6 separate regions of the Homo sapiens genome follow, and regions 2, 3, 4, 5 and 6 are each linked to region 1. Evidence: promoter capture Hi-C in 16 types of primary human blood cells and fetal thymus (Javierre and others, 2016). All regions are on one chromosome and are shown on one strand. Each heading gives the region's core, a stretch centred on a gene start or on the middle of the fragment in contact. The rest is flanking DNA. Distances are from core to core; before and after follow the strand shown.

Region 1 (2,700 bases), core at 77-2,576:
TAATTATCTGGCAGAGCTGTTTAGAGGATTAAATAATATATAGCACGCTCTTGGCCTTTTAGCCTCAACAAATACTACTTTTTTCCTTAATAATAACAGAAAGATCATACAACTTCACAAACCACAAGGACAGGCTGGCCGATAGGCAGGCCCCCCACGACTCTTCTGATGTTAGCCCTGACTGAACTCGCTGTGCAGCGTCCAACCAATCCTGGTTTGTGCTGGGCCCTGGACTGGAACCCAGCCCTTCCCGACGGGAACGCAAAGCGGCCACGAGGGGGCAGCGCACGGCAGGGAATCTTCGCCGCCGACCCCAGCCCACCGCCAAACTTCCCTGCTGCTCTCGGTCCTCCTGTACGTACTTCCGTTGCTCTGACGCTCCCAGAAGCCGGGGCGTCGGGAAGGAGAGCGCGAATTCACCCTCCTCTGCGCCTCCGTAGGAAAAAATTGGAGCGGGGGTTCACGAGACTGCGCCGCGGCGGGCGCTAGAGCCCCTCGCACAGCGTCGCCAAGGGTGCGGCGTGGAGCCGGGCGCCTGGCGCCAGGGTGCTGGTCGGCGGGCAGCGGCGCCAGCCTCCGACCCGCGACTCCGGCGAGCCAAGGCTGCGCCGGGAGGAGTCGGCGCGGGCCCCGGGGTGCCCCCTTCAACTGGAGCGCCTTCCCCTCCTGCCTTGCGGCGCATCCCCACACCTACACCGGAACGAAGCTCCGGGGCTGTCACTTCTGCGCGCTTCTCGGAAAGGAGTCTGAACTGGGAGCGCTCCGGGGGGTCGTCGGGGAGGATGCCCGGGCGTCGGCTGTGTCCCCAAGCTGCTCGCCGGCGCTGGCGAGGAAGGCAGTCGGGATAACGCCGCCCAAACTTTCCTTCGCAGCAGCGTTGGCAGGAAACGTCCCTCTCTGAGGCTCACGAAAAGCCGAAAAAGACTCGGACGCTTGGAGGAGGCAGGGCCAAGCCTGCGCAGGAGAGGTTCCCCGGAGCCCTGGAGATGTCCTAGGGGACCAGGCTAATCGCCGGCTTGCGCCCAAGCGAAGGGAAGTCCTGCAGGCACGGCGCCTCCTTCCCTGAGCCCCGCAGTGACCGTGACCTCCGCGCGCACCCCCGCGCACGTGCTCGCGGCCGAGGAAGAGGAACGGTCCTGCTGAATCCTCTGGAGGACAGCGACTAGCGAGCAGGCCAGGGGCGCATGGAGGTGCCGCGGGGGCGGTGCGGCTCGCCAGCTGCGCGGAGGAGCGTGCACGCCGCGCCCCGGCCTCCCCGGGGACCTGGCCGGCCGCTGCCCGCACTTCCTGCCGCTGGTCTCCCAGGCGCGAGCCGCCGCTTGCAGCACAGAACCCGTTGAGCTTCGTGCCCGGCAGCACCCCCGGTCCCCCGCGCGGGGCGGACTTGCGGCGGGACAGGTGTAGCCCGCAGCCGCAGGCGCTGCGCTCAGGACTGGGCGGGCTCGGCTGGCCGGTCCCCGCCACGCAGGCCGGTCCCCGCCACGCAGGCCGGTCGGTGAGCCACTTCGCACCGCCACAGCCCTAGCATCGGGCCACCAGCCGGGGTGAAGAAAGTCACGGCGGAGCCCGGCTCCCCAGTCCTGATGCTGGCTGCCGGTGGCGGGCTCCACGCCGGCCCCGGGACCTAGGCAGCCGCGCGAGACCGCTGCGGGCGCCTCCCCCATGCTGCTCGGAGCGTCCTGGCTGTGCGCATCCAAGGCGGCCGCCGCTGCTGCGCAGAGCGAGGGCGACGAGGACAGGCCAGGCGAGCGACGGCGGCGTCGGGCGGCGGCCACCGCCGCGGGGGCGGGCGAGGACATGGACGAGTCGTCGCTGCTGGACCTGCTGGAGTGCTCCGTGTGTCTGGAGCGCCTGGACACCACGGCCAAGGTGCTGCCATGCCAACACACTTTCTGCCGCCGCTGCCTGGAGAGCATCGTGTGCTCGCGCCACGAGCTGCGCTGCCCCGAGTGCCGCATCCTGGTGGGCTGCGGCGTGGACGAACTGCCCGCCAACATCTTGCTGGTGCGACTGCTGGACGGCATCCGTCAGCGGCCCCGCGCGGGCACCAGCCCCGGCGGCAGCCCGCCCGCGCGTCCCATCCCAGGCCAGAGTGCGGCCCCCACGCTCGCGGGCGGCGGGGGCGGCGCGGCAGGCAGCACCCCGGGTTCCCCGGTTTTCCTCTCCGCGGCCGCGGGCAGCACCGCCGGCAGTCTGCGGGAGCTGGCGACCAGCAGGACCGCGCCGGCGGCAAAGGTGAGTATCTGTCTCGGCGGAAGTGGCCACGGCACGTGGGAGTGTGTGGGTGGGTGCTTGGGCGTGGGGGGCAGTGATGAGGTGCGGAGGAGACCACGGGTGGTCCTGCGTTGGCCCACTCCGCTGTTGCTCTTCCTCCAACTTCGCTTGCTTGGTGGCGGCATCCGGCCCCTGGGCAGCTCGCCGCTTGTTCACGTGTGTCCCATCCTCCTGTGGAGTGGGCACGCCTTCCTGTCCCGTCGCTCACCCCCGATTCCTTGGCCGGACTTGTTACCCTGCCTCTTAAACTTAGCATCGCCCTTGCGTCTCCCTAGAAACGGGGACCTTCTTCCTCTGGGTCCCCAGACACTCCCTCTGCACACCCTGGGCCTGCCTAGAGAAAAGTTAGCCCTTAACGTTTCTGACAGGGCTCTGATGGCTGCTCTGGGAAGCCCGCGGGCCTCCTGCCTGCGGTGTGGCTAAGGA
Region 2 (2,700 bases), core at 81-2,580, 280 kb after region 1:
CAGCAGACAAAACACAGTCTCCTTGGTCTCTCCTGGCCAAACACATTGCCCCCCTTTCATTGGAGTATGGCTTGAGCAGCTCCAGGACATTGGGAGGTGGAGATCCAAGTGCCGGGGCAGGCTTCAGGCAGGCCACCCTCCCAGTGTGGCCCCAGCGTGGCTCTGGCTGTGCTTTGCTTGTGCTATGCTGGTTTGGGACAGCTTGGCTGTTTCTGGAGCATTTATCTGAACAGGACAGCAGGCATGGTAACAACAGCAGGACCAGTGCGTGCCTATCATCTTAGGTTCCCACTCTTCCCGCTGCTGCAGAGCAGAGTGCCAGTGCCTGGGAGCACAGAACTGCCAGCCCAGCCCCTGCTGGTGCTGCAGGGTCACCCCTGCCCTTTGTCAGCTCCCAGGATCCCCTGACAAAGATGGCACATGGGGGATCGAGAAAGATACGGGCTTACCGTCAGCCAGACCTCAAGTGTTAACTCTGTTATTCTTCTCATACCACTGTGGAAATGTTTCAGGAAACCATTGTCACTTGATATTAAAGTGTAGATTAAAAAATAATAAAATTATCCCAAAAGGCAACTCCCCAAAGGAGCAAAGTTATGGTTTGGTATGTAAGTTTCCTGACTTCTTGCCATGAAAATACACGTATCACTGTCAGAAATTAGATAAGCCTTCATATGCAATGCTGTCACCTCCATTTCCACTCTGCATACCCTACATGGCCCTCCAGGCCTGTCCATGGAGACCACGGCACAGGCGGCAGTGGGGCATTCTGTGTCCTTGTCAGCCTGCCAGCCCCACACCCTGGAACTTCAGGAGTGCAGGTTTTTCGTATCATAAACAGTGCTGCTGCGAAATCCTTACCTGTACCTCCTTTCTGACTTGTCTGATTATCATTATTTTATATATATATTTTTTGAGATAGAGTCTTGCTCTGTCGCCCAGGCTGGAGTGCAGTGGCGTGATCTCAGCTCACTGCAACCTCCGCCTCATGGGTTCAAACGATTCTCCTGCCTGAGCCTCCCAAGTAACTGGGATTACAGGTGCTTGCCACAATGCCCAGCTAATTTTTGTATTTTAGTAGAGACAGGGTTTCACCATGTTGGCCAGGCTGGTCTCGAACTCCTGACCTCAGGTGATCTGCTTGCCTTGGCCTCCCAAAGTTCTGGGATTACAGGCGTGAGCCACCACCCCAGGCCTGTCTGGTTATTTTAGGATTCATTCTTAACAGGAAACTGCCGGGGCTACAGGCTTTTTTTCCTGCCCTGTCTCTGTCTGTCTGTCTCTTTCTATCTCTGTCTGTCTACCTCTGTCTCTCTCTGTGTCTCTGTGTCTTCCTGTCTGTCTCTCCCGCTCTAGAATGGAGAACAGCTTTGTCTACAAGCCCAAATCACCAGGACCTGGGGCTGTATGAGAACGTCTCTGGCCCCCACATTCCCCTCCCTATTCTGTGCTCTGGGGCAGCACGCCTGCCCCCACCAGCCCTCCACACAGCATAGACATGTCATGAGGGCCATGCCTTGTAGGACCTGAGTTTGCAGACTTCTCTGTTACTAACTATGGCAGAATGGGACAGAAACCAGGGGACTGTGGGTCCACTGGCCCAAGCCAGGAGTGAGGGCTTTCCCTGCAGGGAGCACACTGGGGTCTTCCGCATCCCATGAGTGGGATCAAGAGGTGTAACTCCCCACCAGTGGTCCAGCAGGGGCAGTCACCTGCCCCAGGAAGCGCCTGTGCATGTCAGCATTCCCAAGACCAGTGGGTCCTTCTAGGTCCTTGGCTTCCTTGGCCATTCCACAGCATGCAGCTCAATGGACAATGACATTCCCTCTGAAGCACCATCTCCCCTGGGCTATGGGTCTCCTTCTGTTTATTGGGCTGCCCCATCTTGGCCTCCTTCAGGGCCCTCTTCTGGGTGGTGTCCCGCAGATGGGGCCAGGGCATGCTCCCTCCTCACTGTCTCCCAGGCCACTGCACCGTCTACCCTGTTGGCTTCAGGACAACGATCACGAGCCTTTGTTGAGGGCCTATTCTGTGTACTTAGAGTGACTGCTTTATAGCCTGTGGGTTGTCTGACTTCATACTCCAGCTGTCTAGACCATGCAAGCTGCCACAACCCCATCTTCTCATGTCTTGGGGACTCTGTCCTCCACTGCTTGATTTCTATAGTCTTGGGAGCTATTGATTCAGGTTTCATCTGGTTTTTCAGTTTTTTCAGGCAGGAGGGTAAACCTGGCCCCTGTTACCATCATGGTCAGAGCAGAAGTTCATGACCCTCAATGGACACGAGGAGCAATCAGAGGCTCACAGACGCCATCTTGGCTACGGTCACAAACACAGGTCACACACCTGGGAGCTAAGGGCTTTGCCACAAGACTGCATTGCCTCATAGATCAGCTATACATACATGACCCCAGATCTGCTGCCCAGGCCAGTCCCTTCTGAGCTCCTGATTGGCATTACCAGCACCCTCATCATCCACACTGAGACATCTCCAGGCACACCAAACACTGCGTGTCCAGCACTGAGCCCATGGCCTCTGTGGTCTCTTGTTCCTGTCTCTCCAGCAGCATTTCCATCTGGCCAAGGCTAGAAACTCGGCCCATGCTCCTCCCTCAACGTCCTTCAGACCTAATCTTGTTGGTGGAGAAGGGACTGATGGCCCCCACACATGTCCAAGTGCTGATCCCAGAACCTGAGAAT
Region 3 (2,700 bases), core at 96-2,595, 410 kb after region 1:
CTCTAAAGGGTTGGCCTGCCCCGGCCCAGCTCCCCCTGCCTGCCAGTATCTCCTTCCCATAAACCCTGGAGAACACCTAACCTTGTGAGGCCAAGCCTTTCAATGGCTCCCACTGCCTGCCAGACGGGATTTATAAACTTTCCTGGGATTTATAAACCCATTCCTTAACTGCTTCTGAAACCTGGCCCTTACCGGAGCCCCACTCCTTGCTGGTACTCTGATGGTGCTCAGCTACCTTCCAGTGCACACAACATGCTGTGCCTTGTACTAGGAATGCCTCCTTCTTTCATACTCTGGATAAACTGCTCCAGTCCTTCAGGACCAGTCACTTCTTTGGACGGCTCCTTGTGATCTGTGAGAGGCAGACACCCTTTTGAGAGTGCCCTGCTCCAAACCTACTTGGTTGTCCAGCCTGCTCCGGCTGCTCCATGATGCATGGATGACCTGAGTCATGTGTGTGTCCCCATTTCCTGGCCCAATAGGAACACGGGGCTTACACTGAGTTCATCCACAATATAGTGATAATAATCCCTGTAATGCTTTTTCCTTGTGTTGCTTTGAAGTTCAAATCCTAGTCTATGTGAAAGGGCTTTAAAAGTCGGAGGGAGTACGTACCAGGATTAACGGCTGTTAGTTAGAGACAACTGTTTCATAAGCTTAATGGGAAAAATTTTTAACAAAACATGACTAGCTTTATTTTATTCCCAGGAGATTATGCCTCAGTGGATAATTCATTTTCTAATCTTGTGCCTGATGATAAATTAGCTTTGTAAGAAGAAGTCATTAAAAAATTTTTTCTTTGTTGTTCAACTCTTTTAAAATAAAATCTTACATGGAACCCAAATATATGAAATGAATTAAAAATTCACATTGCGGCTGAAGCAGGAGTGAGGCTTTCTCACAGCAGTCATCAGCAGTACAAAACGACCGCCCTGCTGTTAAGTCTAGAGAGTCTCAGGCAGGTTTATTACGTTCTTTTCAACCAGAAACTTGAATAACTGTTTACCATTCCAACAACCTATCTCACACTTCAAAGTACGTTCTTCAGAGTTAAGGAGAGCTGCTTTATAAACAGTATGGTCAAATATAGCCACATATGTAACAAACACTCCCGCAGTGTCATCGAGCCCATCTGTGAACAGTCTGCTCAGCTGGCACTAAGTACCGTGATGCTGGCCTGGCTCTGTACCTCAGGTCACCTACCCTCCAGGACTCCCTGCCTACCAGAACCTGGGTGTCACTGATCTTGCGAAGAAACTTCTGAGCTTGTTCTATGACATGTATAATTTAATTTACTGAAGTTTTAAAAGACTGAGAGACATCTGTGAATTTCAAATGCAAAAATAAAATTTAAAGTATACAGATAAATTGTGCTATGCAAGGTTTTATTTACAACTTAGATGACTCTATGATTGCTCAGAATCTGACACAGACTAATAAGTTTCATTGTCTGAAAATACTCATAAAATACCTCATCTCCAAAATAATTCAAATACATAATTAAATGAACGTTTTTAAAATGAGAGTTTTCAGAAAGGAAAATTAAACACATTTTAGTAAATATATGTTTTATTTGTCAAGAGTAAATGTCAGTTTTATTTAGAATATTCAAGTACAAAAAATGAAAATGTATATATCTATGACTGTTAAGAAATGTTAGAAATCATTAAAATGTTCTGAGAATACCAGTAAGGCACTGAATGCAAATACCACCTGAAATATGAATTATGTGCATTTTTATATCTTTAATATTCAGATGTTCATAGTTATTTTCTTAAAAAGTATTTTTAATAAAATGATTCAACCTTATTATTTTTACCCTGGAAGACAGAGTTTAAACAAGTATGTAATGAAAAGTTTTCCTAATGAAAGCTGTGATACACTCATGCTCAAAGGTACTTTATCCTTAGGAAAAAATAGCTTATATATCTGGATGTTTTAACTTTTAAAGATATTTTGTTTCACCACAGTAATACGTCAGCCATAATAAGGCATAATAAAGCATGAAGTCATCATATTAAATAATCTGACACAAAAGCTTAAGATCATATCACCAATTGGGTAATTGTATAAAAAATTTTTAAGTTCTATAAAACTATTAAGAGGTTAGAGTTTTAGCTCCATAATACATCCCAAAACATATTCCCCAAAATTTTTAGCATATATAAAAAAGGTTCATCTTGGAATATAAATGTAATCAGATAGCCACGATATTAATGGGTTCTGTATTTTCAGTGGCACTGACTTCGCTCTTTGGTATAATGCACTGCAGTGACAATAGCTTGGTAGCAAGAGAAAAGATTTAGATTCATCACAGAACAGCAACTTAAACATTTCTAACAACAGTGAATATATATGAATATATAGGTACAAGCTGAGTATCCCTTATCCAAAATGCTAGGGACCAGAAGTGTTTTGGATTTCAGGTTTGGAATATCTGCATATACACAACGGGACCCGACTCTAATTACATAATTCATGTTTCACATCCACCTTATACATATAGCCTGAAAGTAATTTATACAAAAATTTTGTGCAAGAAACAAAATCTGTTTAAACTGAACCATCAGAAAGCAAAGGTGTCGGGTGGGGAATTTTCCACTTGTGGGGTCAAGTCAGTGCTCAAAAAGATTCAGATTTTGAAGCTTCTGGATTTCAGATTTTTGAATTAGAGATGCTCAACTTGTAGTATCATTCACT
Region 4 (2,700 bases), core at 26-2,525, 320 kb after region 1:
ACCCTGCAGCCCTTGTTATGAGATGTGGCTGGGTCTCATCAGGAGGGAGAGGTGGGATTCACAGTCCTACCCTCTCACTTAAGCATTCTTCCTTCTTCTGAGCTGCTCAGAAACAACCAGGGGCAGACTTGGAAAGTGGGGGCTGTAATAGTTCCTTAAGCATTTCTAGTTCTTTGCCCAAGAATTCCCTCTCTCTAGTTTGTGAAGCAAATGGGACTGGCTTCAATAATACCATTGCTGAGTGGGTTTCTATGACATTACGTCCTGTACGAATCTACACGGAGGATGATGCTGTTCCCCATCACCCACCTAAGTGTGAAGCTAATGAACACCAGCTGAGTCTGTTCCTAGCCTGCCTGTTAGACACTTTGTAAATATTTCGCTTTCTCTTAAGGTTTATGCCCTCTAACAGTTGTGCTATATCAGCAAAGAACAGTTGAGTCCAGAAGACACCCCAACATCCCTCTTGATGAAAGGCGACATGCAGGGACGCCCTGCCATGCAAGCTGCACATACAGTGGCTCAGCCTCCTCCTCCCCTGATAGCTCCCGAGCCTCTGTGGGCAGCAGAAGTGCGTAGGCCACGCTTGGGGCTGGACACATGCTGTGGGAGCAGTCCACGCTGCACTCCAGGCAGGAGGGGAAGTGGTTTTTGTGAGGCCCTCTGAGCTTATGTCCAGAGGTTCAGCAAACCCCAGCAGAGAAGCACATTGCCCTCCCACACATTGTGTGTGCTTTTCATTCCCACCTCTCATAAACAACAAAGACAAGCACTGGTCTACAAAACCACCTGTGAACATTTTGCCCATCTGTGTTCCCACTTGAATTTCTCCTAATTTGCAGCAGGGCCCAAGGCATTTACAGCTGCCATTTGCAGCAGAAGAGCAGAAATGATGGTCATTTTAGTCCACTGCTCAGAAGCAAGTGAGCCAGTGTGACCTGCACCAGCAGACTGTGCTGGGCTAGGGGGCTGCAGCCAGCACACTCCCTGCAGGCCGCTTCCTGAGCCCCACCCCTCCATGACTACACTAAACAGGCTTCCTAACTTTGGGCAACTTGATCATAGATGTACACATGTCTAATTATGGCAAAGGTTTTTTAAAGCATTTGGCAGTATTCTCCAGTCTGTTTCTGTTAAATTTTCTTTGGGAAAAGACAGTGAGCTCCTCACTCCCACATCCACTGATGCATATACCTCAGTGCAGCGCAGTTTCCTAGCGCTAGTGCTGCTAAATTCCACCCAGGCCCTTCCATGCATGTACCAGAGAGAAGGCAGGGTGGATACAGCTCCTGGGCGCCGTAGAGTAGGGAGTAATTTTCTCCTAGGAGCGTGGGAGATTTACGCGCCATATCCCTGTGTGTGGAGAAGGAAGAAGCCCCAAAACCAGCTCTGTGTTGTGTGGTGTCAGTGGCTATGGTCAAGGTCCCAGGAGGCTGGTTCCCGGGAGGCTTGTGCCAGGAGGCTTGTCCCCAGGAGGCTGGTGCTGGCAGGCTGGTCCCAGGAGGCTGGTCCCTGGGAGGCTGGTGCTGGGAGGCTGGTTCTGGGAGGCTGGTGCCAGGAGGCTGGTCCCTGGGAGGCTGGTCCCGGGAGGCTGGTGCCAGGAGGCTGGTCCCAGGAGGCTGGTCCCGGGAGGCTGGTGCCAGGAGGCTGGTCCCGGGAGGCTGGTGCCGGGAGGCTGGTCCCTGGGAGGCTGGTCCCTGGGAGGCTATTCCCGGGAGGCTGGTCCCCGGGAAACTGGTCCCCGGGAGGCTGGTGCTCTGCTGCTATATCCAGGGGGATTGGGCCTTTGAGCTCTGTTCCCTGCGTGGCCCGATGTGGTGTGCAGGCCTCTGGGGATAATACAAGTGCAGACAGAGTGGCAGTTCTTTCTCCAGACCCATTCCTGAACCAGAGCTCCTCTCTGGGCCCAGGCATCTGCCAGCCTATGCAGGAACCTCTCCAGCCTACTCTCCCAGGTCTCTTCCTGCCCACCTGCCTGATCATATTGCTCCCTGCAGGGGCTGCCCTGTGGCCAGGCCCCCAACACCCACAAGTTACACAGTAGAACTCAAATCTGGTTTTAAAAGGTGGTCTTCAGGATTTAAGTTATCCTTTTGCACTTAAAAATGAATTTTGTGCTTGAAACAACCATGGAACACTGCCTATTGTGTCCATCCGTGACAGTTTTCTGGTTTTGAAACTGTGTGAGCACATCAGCACCAGGTGATACGAACCCTCAGGGTACCTAAGTCCAGGGGAGAGTCACCCAGAAGAGAAGGGTGCAATGGGCTGCGTGCAGTTGGCATCCCTAACCACCCGACCGGCCATCACTCACTCTCTTACTTGTGCCCCAATCCCTGACTCATCTGTGTATTGCAAAGAGCATGAGGATGTACCTGGCAGAGCGCAGGCACACGGTTCATAATGATGGAAAGGTCAACCCTGGCCTGGAGGAGCCAGAGTATAGTACAGGTCACTGTACAGGTAAACAGGCGATTGATTGCAGGAGAGGGTGGGTGATTGACCTGCGTGTGGGAACAGAGGGTCACCGACAAAGGCGCCTGGTCAGCCCAGGTCAGGGGAGACTTCCCGGGGCACAGATGGGAGGATCCTTGGCTGAGGGTCAGCCTGAGCAGAGGCCAGGGGACATGGCCCGAAGATGAGGGCCAGGGACGGGAGAGGTAGCAGGCAGCCCTGGGAGGGCCTCGTTGCCAACTGCTC
Region 5 (2,700 bases), core at 136-2,635, 340 kb after region 1:
TGGCTCAGTACTCTACGTGCAGAGCTGAACAAGGCAGTCTGGAGGAGGACAGGCAGTTACACCAAGCTCCCTGGACTGGCTCTGACAGTGCCACGCATGGGGTGCCTAGAAACTGCTGTGGCCGGGGCTGGTGGAGGATGGGTCATCACAGAAATAGCAGAGCCAGAGGTGCAGATGTGCAGGAAGTAGAGGCCTCGGCTCAGCCACCCCTGTTCCACAGGCCACAGCTTAGAGAGACCCTTTGCAGGGAAGTCAGCTCACAGCAAACAAAGGGTGCTGACATTTCATTCCTTCTTCCTCATGATAAGAAATCTCTTCTGTTGCCTGAGGCAGAGTCAGTGTATTAGTCAATTTTCACACTGCTGTAAAGAAATACCAGAGACTAGGCTGGGTGCGGTGGCTCACGCCTGTAATCCCAGCACTTTGAGAGGCCGAGGAGGGCAGATCACTTGAGGTCAGGAGTTCGAGACCAGCCCAGCCAACATGGTGAAACCCCATCTCCACTAAAAACACAAAAATTAGTTGGGTGTGTTGGCAGGTGCCTCTAATCCCAGCTACTTGGGAGGCTGAGAATCACTTGAACCCAGGGGGCAGAGTTTGCAATGAGCCGAGATCGTGCCATTGCACTCCAGCCTGGGCGACAGACTCTGTCTCAAAAAAAAAAAAAAAAAAAAAAAAAGAAATTAATACCTGAGACTGAGTAATGTATAAAGGAAAGAGGTTTGATTGACTCTCAGTTTCAGCTGGGGGTGCCACAGGAAACTTACAATCATGGCGGAAGGCAAAGGGGAAGCAAGCACCTTCTTCACAAGGCGGCAGGAGAGAGAAGAGAAAGTGAAGGGGGAAGAATCCTCATAAAACCATTGGATCTCATGAGAACTCACTCACTATCACAAGAACAGCATGGGAGAAACTGCCCCCGTGATCTAGTCCCCTCCCTCCAGGTCCCTCTTTGACACATGGGGATTACAATTCTAGATGAGATTTGAGTGGGGACACAGAGCCAAACCATATCAGTCAGTGGCAAAATTCATCATTGGAACAGCTCATGTAGGCCCAGACACTGTTGTATTCCATGGGTGAGGAGGTTGCTGTCCAAGCCACCTGCTCCAGGACACATGCTGGGGCGGGGTCTAAGTCTCTTTCTTTTCCACTCACCCCCTTGCTGTCTCAGCCTCACATACCTAATAAGACGGTCCCAAGAGCTTAGCCATAGGAGATAGACTAATGCACAGTCCTGGATAGCTTGTCCTGCCTTTTTGCATGGGGCACGTCTTGTTAAACTTTTTCCACACTCTATTTGCTGAGACTATGCAGACACAGGGAGAGCAGATGCCTGGCAGTTCTCTAGAAGGCAGGGGCTGTGTGAACAGCAGTTCATGTAACTTGGTCTGAAGCAGGCCATTTTCCTCCATGGTTATATTGCCAATTCAGGGAGAAGCAGAGTCCTGGGCCCCCTGCACTGTGTGGCCCTGTAGCACAGTGTGCACCTGGATTCTGACATCTCAGCTTCTTTCAAATTCCCATCCTTTTCTAATTATTAATTAGATTGTTAATTATTATTAATTAGTTAATATGATTAACAACCACCTGTGACCTCATGGTAGCAGCTCCTTATAGAAATGTAGGAGCAGTCCCCAGTTAAAAATTAGATAGGGATAAAAGCCCAAATCAGGGCACTTATTCAGGGAGGTGCCACCTGGCCAGGGTCTGGGCTGCTCCAGGAAGACGGTGGCAGGAGAGGACCCGGCCAGGGGCCTCCCGGGCCCTCCTCACCTGCACTCTCGGTGGTCTCGGGCCGGTGTGCATGCAGGGTGTCCTGGAAGCAATCTTCCTTAAGAAGCACAGAAAGAGGAAATCCAAACCATCCTGCAGAGCTTGCGGGGCTTCCCGACGGGGCTTCCCGTCAGGGCTTGGCAAGCTGGCAGCCATCAGGAAGGACTTGTGGAAAGAAGAGCTTTGATTTACGGTTGCTGCCTCAGAAACCCCGATCCAATTGATGAACCGACCTGCGGCTGCCTTCTGGTTGGATGAAGTGATTTCCATCCATCTGTTTCATTTAAAAACAAAATTCAGGAAGTGAGCTTGCCATACCTGACTAAATAATAGTGTGTTTAATTTTTCCTGTTTCATTCCAGACATCCTTCAGAAGGAGGCCAGATTTTACAGAGATTTCATCTGAATGCATTCCATTTGATCTAATAATTTATGGCTGTGTTGTATTTGTCCTACAGAAAGCCAGCCAGACGCCCGTTGGAAATCCAACACACAGCAAAGTTATCCTAATGGACAGGGTCGTGACACACTCAGACATATCCCAGGGCAGACAGCCCTGCTCCAGCCTCTTATTTCTGTCTGTCCTACCTTTGGCCTAATCTCCTTTGAAGCAATTTTAAATGAATGAATGTGGTGCTATAAATTCTACCCGACTCGTGGGGCCTTTCCTACCTTAGTGAAAAGATAATGTGTTGGCTGAGATGGCAAGGAGACAGGGTCACATGGTGTTGCAGCCTTTCAGATGCGAGTCCCAAGAATCTAAAGAGAACTGACAGCCTGGCATTTAATCGCCCCTCATTTAACAGCATTAACTCAAGTTAACTCTTGCAAAGCTCTGTGATGGATTTTCCCAGGGAAGCGGCTTCCTGCCTAGACATACGAGCGCCTCACACAGGCCTGGGCTGGCCCCATTCGACGCCTGGG
Region 6 (2,700 bases), core at 13-2,512, 360 kb after region 1:
GGCTAATTCCTTTTCCTTTGGACAACGCAAGGCCACCCAGGTCTCCTGCCTGCCAGGAGGGGAGGAGCGGCCAGCAGCCCCAGAGCCTGCAGAGTGGGCTCCGCCGGGACACCTGGGGCAGGCCTGGCTTCTGTCCCCGCATCCTGGCCTGCTGTCCTTGTGACCTAGGGATCCCAGCCTTAGCACTGATGACATTTGAGGCCAGATAACCCTGCCATGGGGGGTTCCCTTGCATTGGAGTATGTTTACCAACATCCCTGGGATCTGCCCACCAGATGCCAGCAGCACCCCTGAGTTGTGACAGCCCAGATGTCTTCAGACATTGCCACCTGTCCCCTGGAGGCAAGGTCACCCTCTCATCAAGAACTCTTGCTGTGGGTTCAGGCCTCCTGGGGAGCCAGTTCCCACCCCAGGTACTGCAGTTCTTTCCTTCCTGGCCTGCGGAGGGGCTGACGGGCCCAGCTGCAGGGTCTCCCATCCCCAGGCCTTATGCCCTGCCTACATCGTGGCCTGAACAAGCCTCCTCACTCCCTGCCCCCAGGCACCCCACTCAGATCCCAGGGTTCTGCCCCCGACCCCTCACGGTTTCTTCTTTTCCTTTCTAGTTTCTACCCAAGCAGTTCCCGATGTGTGTTCCTGGGAACACTCTCCCTCAAGTTGTGCCGCCAACAAGAGTTCTCTGAGAACTAGACTCGGGAAACACCACACTTTGAGCTGCCAGCACATGAAGGGCTGCAACGAAATCCATGTCTAACTGATTGCTCTAGGCTGTTTCCTATTGCTCACAACCTCCAGGGCCTGGCACGGTGCACAAGACCTTCAGGAAGTTATTGGAGGGAGAGTGAGGCAGAGGGGAGATAGGCCGGGAGGCTGCAAGCCCAGTAGCGGAGTCAGGTATCTGGATCCCCGTGCTGCATGGCTCAGAGCTGGGCCGCCTCTTCCTCCTGAAATCACCCAGAACTCCCCATGGACTGTCAGTACAGAGCCTGAAAGCAGGAACAGCTGACCTCCAGGATGAGTCCAGCCTTGGAGGAAACACATTGAGAAAAGTGGGGAGCGAAGGCCGAGACTCAGGCAGTGGAGTTGGAGGCTGGGATCCACACTTGCCCAGGGCACACCTTCATTATATCTCTTTCCCTCTCTATTGCATAAGCAGCAGTGCCTGGGGCACAGGCTCTGAATGCAGTGGGATTAATGAATACAGTGGAACAAATGCTGGTCACCAAGGGTGATGGGGATGGTCCCTTTAGACACCTTATCGGGTGGAGACCCTTCACCGGGCACTAAGCAGTATCCCACAGCCACAGGCCCCCAGACCCTGGTACAGCTGCAACAACAATCCAGGCATGTGGCCTGGGGGGACTTGGCTGGGGCCGGAGCAGTTGTGCTCTTAGACAACCAGACCCCAGCGTGGCTTGGGCCTCACGGAAAGTCCCATCAGGAACCGTGTCACCTGTCCTACAAAGTCCACTTAGAAGAGCTGGGGGAGGAGAAAGCAGATGACATTGACTGCTGGTTCCTCTACACAGACAATGACGTTGCCAGGCTTGGCCAGGGTCCCGTGACAGAGAGGGCTGTGTTGTCGGGGATGGCCCGTCAGCAGCATCCTTCTCTGAGAATGGCATCACTGGCCTGCCCTGGGGGCCTCGGGGCCTATTTTGGACATTTCTGCTAGATTTTGGAAGAGAAAGGAAAACAAGTGTCGGACAAGGTTTTTTTTGGCGGGGGGTGGGCGGGGGGGACGGAGTCTCGCTCTGTCACCCAGGCTGGAGTGCAGTGGCGCAATCTCAGCTCACTGCAACCTCCACCTCCTGGGTTCAAGCTATTCTCCCACCTCAGGCTCCTGAGTATCTGGGATTACAGGCAAGTGCCACCACACTCAGCTAATTTTTGTATTTTTAGTAGAGACAGGGTTTCACCATGTTGGCCAGGCTGGTCTCGAACTCCTGACCTCAAGTGATCTGCCCACCTTGGCCTCCCAAATTGCTGAGATTACAGGCATGAGCCACCGTGCCCAGCCTGGATGAGCTCTTGGTCTTAGCTTTGTTTTCCTCCTCTGAGCCACTTTACAAGGTTATCTTTAAAGTTTCCTGATGGAACCATTCTCCATGGGTCTCTCACCCTTCTACCCATCTTACAACTGAGATGCCATCTGCTGGCCTATCTTTTCAAGATGTCCATGTAGGCACCAGCCTTGGAAAATAGAAATAATGTCAGTCTTCAAAGCAAAGAGCAGGCATGCTTACTGCTTGACTCCGGAGCAGAGGGCCAGCATCCTCACAGTCCAGTAGAGAGGATTTGGTGTCCCGAAGCTCCAGGTCCTCTGCTTTAACACAGCCTGGTGTGCCTGCAAGCGTCACCTGGCCCTCACTGGTTCACCCGTGGGAACTGGGGTTCAGGGAACTGGTGCAAGAAAATGCTGGTACTCTGGCTACTGCTGTTGCTGTGAGTGGTAAAGTCTTTTGTCTGAAAAAATAAGAAATTTAAAAATAAAGTTCCACATAGGAAGATGCATTCCCCTCTCTCTGACAGCAAGGGCATTGGGAAGCATTCACCTGTTTGGTTTCCATCTTGTGTGTCTCCCCAGAAAGAGAAGAAGAGTGGGCTCCTGAAGCTTCTAGCCGGAGCATCCACCAAGAAGAAGTCACGCTCCCCGCCATCTGTGTCTCCAACCCACGACCCCCAGGTGGCCGTGGACGC

Evidence for each region. The method cuts DNA at HindIII sites, captures the fragments that hold promoters and counts their contacts. A CHiCAGO score of 5 or more calls a contact.
Region 2: a contact is called between a fragment that was not itself captured here and the fragment with the promoter of SH3RF3 in region 1, in 1 of 17 cell types (M2 macrophages). The highest score is 5.7, in M2 macrophages.
Region 3: a contact is called between a fragment that was not itself captured here and the fragment with the promoter of SH3RF3 in region 1, in 1 of 17 cell types (neutrophils). The highest score is 5.1, in neutrophils.
Region 4: a fragment that was not itself captured here is called in contact with the fragment with the promoter of SH3RF3 in region 1 in 1 of 17 cell types (M0 macrophages); the score reaches 7.0 in M0 macrophages.
Region 5: a contact is called between a fragment that was not itself captured here and the fragment with the promoter of SH3RF3 in region 1, in 2 of 17 cell types (M0 macrophages and activated CD4 T cells). The highest score is 6.3, in M0 macrophages.
Region 6: a fragment that was not itself captured here is called in contact with the fragment with the promoter of SH3RF3 in region 1 in 7 of 17 cell types (monocytes, M1 macrophages, M0 macrophages and 4 more); the score reaches 7.5 in monocytes.

The regions. Positions count from the first base shown.
Region 1 is chr2:109,127,879-109,130,578 of GRCh38, forward strand. SH3RF3 (SH3 domain containing ring finger 3) reads left to right here and starts at 1,327. Exons shown (of 10, transcript NM_001099289.3): 1 at 1,327-2,235. The coding sequence starts at 1,663. SH3RF3-AS1 (SH3RF3 antisense RNA 1) reads right to left here and starts at 2,241. Exons shown (of 1, transcript NR_029193.1): 1 at 1-2,241. It also overlaps a transcript of RANBP2 not described here. RefSeq lists silencers at 543-602, 983-1,052, 1,063-1,112, 1,143-1,342. The HindIII fragment of the contact is 8,501 bases long and covers 1-2,700 here.
Region 2 is chr2:109,412,218-109,414,917 of GRCh38, forward strand. All of the region lies in intron 4 of SH3RF3 (SH3 domain containing ring finger 3), which reads left to right. It also overlaps a transcript of RANBP2 not described here. Among named protein-coding and RNA genes, the nearest start is that of MIR4266, 100 kb to the left of the region's middle. The HindIII fragment of the contact is 8,736 bases long and covers 1-2,700 here.
Region 3 is chr2:109,541,431-109,544,130 of GRCh38, forward strand. It overlaps SEPTIN10 (septin 10), which reads right to left. Exons shown (of 11, transcript NM_144710.5): 11 at 1,369-2,700. It also overlaps a transcript of RANBP2 not described here. Among named protein-coding and RNA genes, the nearest start is that of SEPTIN10, 71 kb to the right of the region's middle. The HindIII fragment of the contact is 1,382 bases long and covers 655-2,036 here.
Region 4 is chr2:109,451,277-109,453,976 of GRCh38, forward strand. The region is part of intron 8 of SH3RF3 (SH3 domain containing ring finger 3); the gene reads left to right. It also overlaps a transcript of RANBP2 not described here. Among named protein-coding and RNA genes, the nearest start is that of MIR4266, 140 kb to the left of the region's middle. The HindIII fragment of the contact is 8,803 bases long and covers 1-2,700 here.
Region 5 is chr2:109,470,553-109,473,252 of GRCh38, forward strand. The region is part of intron 8 of SH3RF3 (SH3 domain containing ring finger 3); the gene reads left to right. It also overlaps a transcript of RANBP2 not described here. Among named protein-coding and RNA genes, the nearest start is that of SEPTIN10, 140 kb to the right of the region's middle. RefSeq lists an enhancer at 194-313. The HindIII fragment of the contact is 4,424 bases long and covers 1-2,700 here.
Region 6 is chr2:109,488,018-109,490,717 of GRCh38, forward strand. SH3RF3 (SH3 domain containing ring finger 3) reads left to right here. Exons shown (of 10, transcript NM_001099289.3): 9 at 2,588-2,700. It also overlaps a transcript of RANBP2 not described here. Among named protein-coding and RNA genes, the nearest start is that of SEPTIN10, 120 kb to the right of the region's middle. The HindIII fragment of the contact is 2,700 bases long and covers 1-2,612 here.